Regions from separate parts of the Homo sapiens genome. Here region 1 is linked to region 2. Evidence: promoter capture Hi-C in 16 types of primary human blood cells and fetal thymus (Javierre and others, 2016). All regions are on one chromosome and are shown on one strand. The core of a region is centred on a gene start or on the middle of the fragment in contact, and the rest is flanking DNA. Distances in the headings are between cores, read along the strand shown.

Region 1 (3,031 bases), core at 340-2,839, 190 kb before region 2:
TCACCATCTTCCTGAGACTCACGGTCAAAATCCACAATTAACCCTATAACACCCAGGAAAACATTGGAGGAATGTGTGGTTGTTTTCCCAGTGAGAATTAACGCCAAAAAAGTCGAGAAACAGGCATCCTATTTCGTGTGTGACTCCAACCCAATCATAAGCATGTCTTAAGCACCACTTGTGAGTTTGAGCATGGTGACTATTTGCACCAAGCCATCCATCCTCACCTTTTTTTTTTTATGTGACCACATGTGCATCCTAGCAAGATGGCTAGCATGGGTTATAAGGCCCGCAGCCCATGCCAATCTTTCCCTTCTGTATAAAACGTGAGCCATTTGGAAGACAAATTCATGAGCACAGACTAATGAGGAATCCCCACAACCAAGTCAAAGCCTGGGAGAGGCTGCTCAGAGCAGACACTTATAAGCATGGAAGTTACTCCAGCAGGGGCTGGGGGGGCATAGATTAAACATAACTCTTAGGAGCAGAGAGAGGCAAGCTGACAAAGGCAACCAGGCTACGACTGGCACCTGGCCTCAAAAGATGGCCACAGCATGGCATCATCAGATCCATCCTGACGCACCCTCCTTCACCCCCCAGCTAGCCACAGAGAAAATCGATGACGAAGGACAAACAAGGCCCCTCACTCATTGCAAAAGCAGCGCGTTGTCTCATGGCAAGTCCTAAAAACTTTATCTTTTACAGTGATAAATGCCAGGCAAACATTTCACTAGCTAGTTAAGTCTTACATCCCACATTATATCAAGAAAGAGATGAGGTAGACTGACAGACACACAGACACACACAGACCGCTGTTTTTGGGGACCCGGGATAACGCTCCACTTCCCATTCTCTGGGCACATGACACACGACGCAATTCCTACCTGCTTGCATAAGTTGGCACTGCTGACCAAAGACGTGGGAGAAGGTGACGGGGCCTGTGGCAGAATTGGATGTCGCCAGCGTGGATTCCATGGCTCTTTTGGGGTCTTTGGTGTTGGTCATGTGGCAGCGTCCAGACCCTTGGAGTGTCAGAGCAAAGGATGCCGTCGCTGGCCCAGGAACTGCAGATCTGAGGCTACTTGTCACTTCCAAGAAAATGTCCCCGCCCCCAAAGTTTATAGTGTTTCTTCCTTTCGCCACCCTTTCCTTGCAGTTTTTCTCAAACACCAGTCAAGTAAAAAATGAAACCCTATAAGCCTTGGCAAATCTTGCACAGCAGCAGTTCCATGCAAAAGAAAAATCTAAGTTTCCCCCTAACCAGGAGTCGTGGCTTCTTGACCCGGAAGGGTGGCTGGAACTTGCCCCCCGGCCCGGGGCTGCTTCTCCTGGGGTCACCTGGAAGGGGCAGGGTCCCCGGGAGCAGCTCAGCCCCGGCTGTGTTCCAGCACCAGCTGCCGGCAGAGCGCTGCCCAGGCCCCGCGGCGTCTCAGTCCAGGGAGGCAGGCAGGGCGCGAGGCTGCCCCAGGGTCCCCGGGGAGCTGGCCTTGCTGGCGCCGCCCCGCTGCCTGCAGCGCCGACCCTGGGCTCCCGCGTCCCCGCGCGAGCGCCGCGGCCCCAGGTCCTGCACGCGCCAGGCGTCCGGCTGCTGCCAAAGGGAGAGCGCGGGAGGCGGGCGGCGCGGGCCGCACGGGCGCGGTGCAGCTCCGGACCCGCAGGCGTCTCCGGCTCATCCTCCACTCGGGACGCCTAGGCCCTGCCGCTCCCCACTCCTCGCGTGGCAGCAGGGAGGGACTGAGACCTGCTGCAGCGGCCCCCAGCCCGCGCCGCCACCCCGGTGCGGCGATGCAAAGGGGGCAGTTCCTGGGAGATATTCTGGATGCGGAGGGAAGTGCTAACTCAGCCCAGCAGGCTCCAGGGCTGCTGTAACCTCTTCCTGCCCACAGCCAAGGAAGTGCCAGGCACGGGAGACCCGACTGCCTGCGATAAAATCCAGAGACCAAGAAGAGAAAAGGAGAAAATGCCACACATCCCCTAGGGCGCTCCGGTGATACAGAGATCTGAGTACTTCATCTTAGCCGACCCAACCCTACTGTGTATGAAGGATCTGTCCCCTGCTCCAAACCAAAAGGGGCCGCTTCTCTGGAAAAGGAGGAGAGGGGTACTTTTTGCATGATTCCAACAGCTATTTCTGCCAGTGCTGGGTTTATTTTGCTATTCCACCTGCTAATCATGAAGATGCTAACTCCAGAGAGGCTGCATCATCTCGGGCCAGCATTTAGGGTACTTTGAGGATTCCGCTGAGACATTGGTACTGGCAATCACCTCTCTAGGCAGCAACACACGTGCAGGGAGAGAGAGGCTGTGCCACAATGAGCTCAGCTGCAGCCGTCAAAGCACCCGTGTCTGTTTCCCTCCGGAGAACTTTGATTTAGAAAAGCCATTTGCCTCTTCTGTATTTAAGCAACAGAAGATAAACTCACAACTGATCTAGGGGCCAGAAAGACTCTCAAACAGGCCTTTTTCCATTACAGCCCTTGGCCAGCAAACACATGCAGCTTAGTGATGTTTTGAGGGTTCCTTGGGATGGGTAAGACAAGGCAGAGGAGCCTTGAAGTAGTTCCAAGAGTTCAAAGGAAGTCTGACTTTGTGTTAATGCTGCTTCCAGGTAGTTTAAGTGATTGAGCATCCCTTTTCTTGTCATGCATGAGGCTCTTCTCCGTGTCATGAAACTGTAGGACACCAGGGACCATTTCTCTCTGGCAAATTGGGTCTAAGGTGGTCAAGAGCTAGGGTTAGAAGACCAGATCTCTTGATATCTGCAGAAACCCCACGCAGGAAGGGAAATAGATTGGTTTTTCAGGTCTGAGTGGAAATGGAAGTTATAATGCCTCCCAGCAATGGCCCATTAGCTGCTGTTAAAAAAAAAAAAAAAATCCAAGGTGAACATTTATATAGTAGTTTAACCTGCAGATGTCTTCTGTTTGGCAATCTATGTTTTCCTCCATTCTCTGTATACCCAGTCCATTGCTTCTCACTGCTAAATAGTGTTTCATATATTAAATGTACGATTTTACTCTATCTGCTCCCT
Region 2 (3,277 bases), core at 724-3,223:
AATAAGGAAAGAAATACGCATATCCACACCAAGAGAGACAGGAAGATCTGCCAAACGTTAACAATGGTTATCTGAAGAGGGGAAGGTTATGCCCAATTTCTGTTTCTTCTTTGTGCTTTTCTCTACTTTCCAATTTTCTACAGTGAGAATCTTTTGTTATGTTTTGTACTTACAAAATTAATACATTCTTACAGATTTAAACTGTACTGTTTCAGGCCCTGTCCACAAAATAAGGAAAAAACAAACCTGAACATACCAACCTTTCAATTAAAGAAACCACCTTCAGAATCAACAAAAGCAAACATTTACTGAGCAGTATTATCATGTTCTGGCACTTTTCTAAGCACTTAAAATGTATTAACTTATTTCAATCAAACCAAAACAGATGTGTTGAGTAAAAAGAGCCCTGGAATCACAGAAAATGTAAATGAGTTTTAGTTCCACTGTGAATTTTGATTTGTTTCCATAGCTCGAAATGAGGGGGTTTAATAAAAATGATCTTTAAAGGTCATCTCAAGGCTAAACTAAGATTCTACATGTAAAAATTTGGCCAATAAGTGTTAGTCCGGAAGCCTCAAGAGTGATGGGGCAGTTTGGACCATCTCAAAAACACAGAACCCTACTAAAAAAGAACGTATGACAGTGTGTCTCAGTTCCTCCTCCTTAATATATGTAAATTTCCTATCATGTTTTTTTTTAAAAGGCCTACATTTTTCTAATACTTGGACACAACTGATCAAACCGAGGCGAAGTGTGTACCATTGTAAAAGAAATCATTGAAGAGTTCCATTTGTTGTTAAAAGTTTCGGTCACTTTTAATAAACCTGGAGTAAACAAAAACTTAAACATTTTAGTCGAGTTCTGGGGTAAAAATGATTCTTCTAGTGTCTGGTTAAAGGGATCTAAGGACCTACTGGGATTCAGCAAAAGACGTTCCACGTCTCAAATACACCCAAAATCTCAATACAACACTAAAAGAAAAGTGAGGGGCCAGCACGAAATTTCTGTTAGGGGAAATTTCAGCTGCGTAGTTAAGGAAATCAGGACTTCCCGGTTAACTATGGGGTCTTTGCCGCAGCTCACAGCCCGACACAAAGCTACAAGCCCGGAGGGTCGGTGGCTCACGCGTGGATCGAAAGAACCACGAAGGTTTGGGGAATGACACTGACCTGTTAGGTTTACTTCATGTCTCACTTACCACCATCAAAAGAGGTTCATTGATAGCTTTATTAGCAAAATTAGTAACAGAGTTGCACGTCTGTAACACACACACACGCGCGCGTGCGCACACACACACATACACCCGTGGGTCTATGGGAACATTGAGGGAGACAATCTCCAGGTTAAAACCACACAAAAACTATTTGGGAAACACAAAGACGCAAGACACAAAACAAATTTGGAGTGCAAATGTGCAAGACACACTCAGTGGGAACACAAAAGAGAAAAGCACAGCGGCTTGACAATTGGGACGGCGCCCGGCCCCACGTGGGGCCCCAGGTGGCCCCACCGCCGCCCGCACCCGGCCAGTCTCTGCAGCCCGCACGCGTCCCCCGCGGGGCGCGCGGCTCTTCACGGCGACAAACCGAATCCCGAACTTCGCCGCAGGGACCCCACGGCCGACAAGGAGGAGCCCGGCGCCGCCACCCACCCGCGGGGCCACCGACCCGGAGGCCCGCGCCTCGTCCCGGGGCCCCCGGCACGCCCGGGACCTCTGAGGGGGCGCGTCCGCCGACCCGGCCATCCCTGCGGCGCCGGGTCCCCAGCGTGTCGCCGCCGCCGTCGCCGCCGCGCTCCTCGGGGGGAGGGACCAGCGTCCCGGCGCGAGCCCAGAGGCCGCCCACCCGCGCCACTCCTTACCCGCGCCCGCCGCGCCAGCGCCTCAGAGCACCGAGGGCCGCCGCCGCCGCCGCTGTTTCGCCGGCCCCGGCGCCCGCGGCCGCGCCGCCGCCATCTTGACTCCAGTCGGAAGTGACGTCGGGCGGCGAGGCAGTGGCCTGCGGGGCTGGGGGGCTCCGGGACCCCCGGTCTCCCCACGATCCCAGAGCCCGGCCCTTGACCCTGCGCCGTCGCCCAATGGCCACCACCCAGCCGCCCCTCGTAGGTCACCGCGGATCCCATGGCGGCGCCTCGGGAAGGAACCCCGGCGGCTGGCGTCGCGGCAAGTCCGACCGCACCCTAGGGCTAGGATCCTGCGTGGTTCAAAGATTCTCAAAGAATCAAAAAGACTGAAGGAGGTGTTGGGGGGGCATGTCTATCGTTGGAGGTCATTAAATATCTGACAAGTACATAAACGTAGACCTTATACTTCTACGTTTGGATCTATACCAAAAAGATCCAACTCCAGGCAGACAGACGCAGCTGCTGGGTTTATTTGCTGCCCTAGTACCCAGGAGCAGTGACCAACGCTGCCCTGTGCCCGCGATGTTCCAGTGCAGCGCCTCTGAGAGCGCGGTAGTAGTCCTGCCCTTAAGGAGCTTGCTGTTCCCAAGCGGGCAAACAAATGGACTGCAGAGACGACGACTCATAGATGTTCTGATGAAGATGAACTGGGTGGAACTGGAGATGGCTCTTCGACATCCAAGGGTGGAGGCCTAGCACGTGGTTGAAAATGAGTTGAGTCGGGGAGAAGCACAGGCTGGAGATGAGCTGGAAAGTTGGGAGTTGTCGTTATAGATGGTGCCTGGAGCCTTCAGCACTTCAAGATAAAGTAATCCTCTGAGAATGAAGTCAGGAAGAATCCGAATGTGATGGCTACGTTGGCCATCTGCAGAAAGCACCCAGTGGAAAAACAGGATACTAAGGGCAGGTGTGCTTCCAAAAATTATGAACGATCATTTATGTAACAGGTTTAATCTTAAGAAAACGTGTTGGCCGGGCGCAGTGGCTCACGCCTGTAATCCCAGCACTTTGGGAGGCCAAGGCAGGTGGATCACGAGGTCAGGAGATCGAGACCATCCTGGCTAACACGGTGAAACCCCGTCTCTACTAAAACTACAAAAATTTAGCCGGCCGACGTGGCGGGTGCCTGTAGTCCCAGCTACTCCGGAGGCTGAGGCAGGAGAATGGCGTGAACCCAGGAGACGGAGCTTGCAGTGAGCCAAGATCGCCCCACTGCTCGCCAGCCTGGGCGACAGAGACAGACTCCATCTCAAAAAAGAAAGAAAACGTGTTGTATCAACATATATCATGTTATCTTATTGTAAAAGAATGAGGCTAGGCCGGGCGCGGTGGCTCAGCCTGTAATCCCAGCACATTGGGAGGCCGAGGCGGGTGG

Evidence for each region. Contacts are between HindIII fragments. The CHiCAGO score rates a contact against its expected background, and 5 or more counts as called.
Region 1: a fragment that was not itself captured here is called in contact with the fragment with the promoter of PRDM2 in region 2 in 2 of 17 cell types (non-activated CD4 T cells and naive B cells); the score reaches 6.6 in non-activated CD4 T cells.

The regions. Positions count from the first base shown.
Region 1 is chr1:13,891,610-13,894,640 of GRCh38, reverse strand. It overlaps a transcript of KAZN not described here. Among named protein-coding and RNA genes, the nearest start is that of PRDM2, 190 kb to the right of the region's middle. The HindIII fragment of the contact is 4,492 bases long and covers 1-3,031 here.
Region 2 is chr1:13,698,884-13,702,160 of GRCh38, reverse strand. PRDM2 (PR/SET domain 2) reads right to left here and starts at 1,973. Exons shown (of 10, transcript NM_001393986.1): 1 at 1,861-1,973. RefSeq lists a silencer at 1,451-2,220. The HindIII fragment of the contact is 13,472 bases long and covers 1-3,277 here.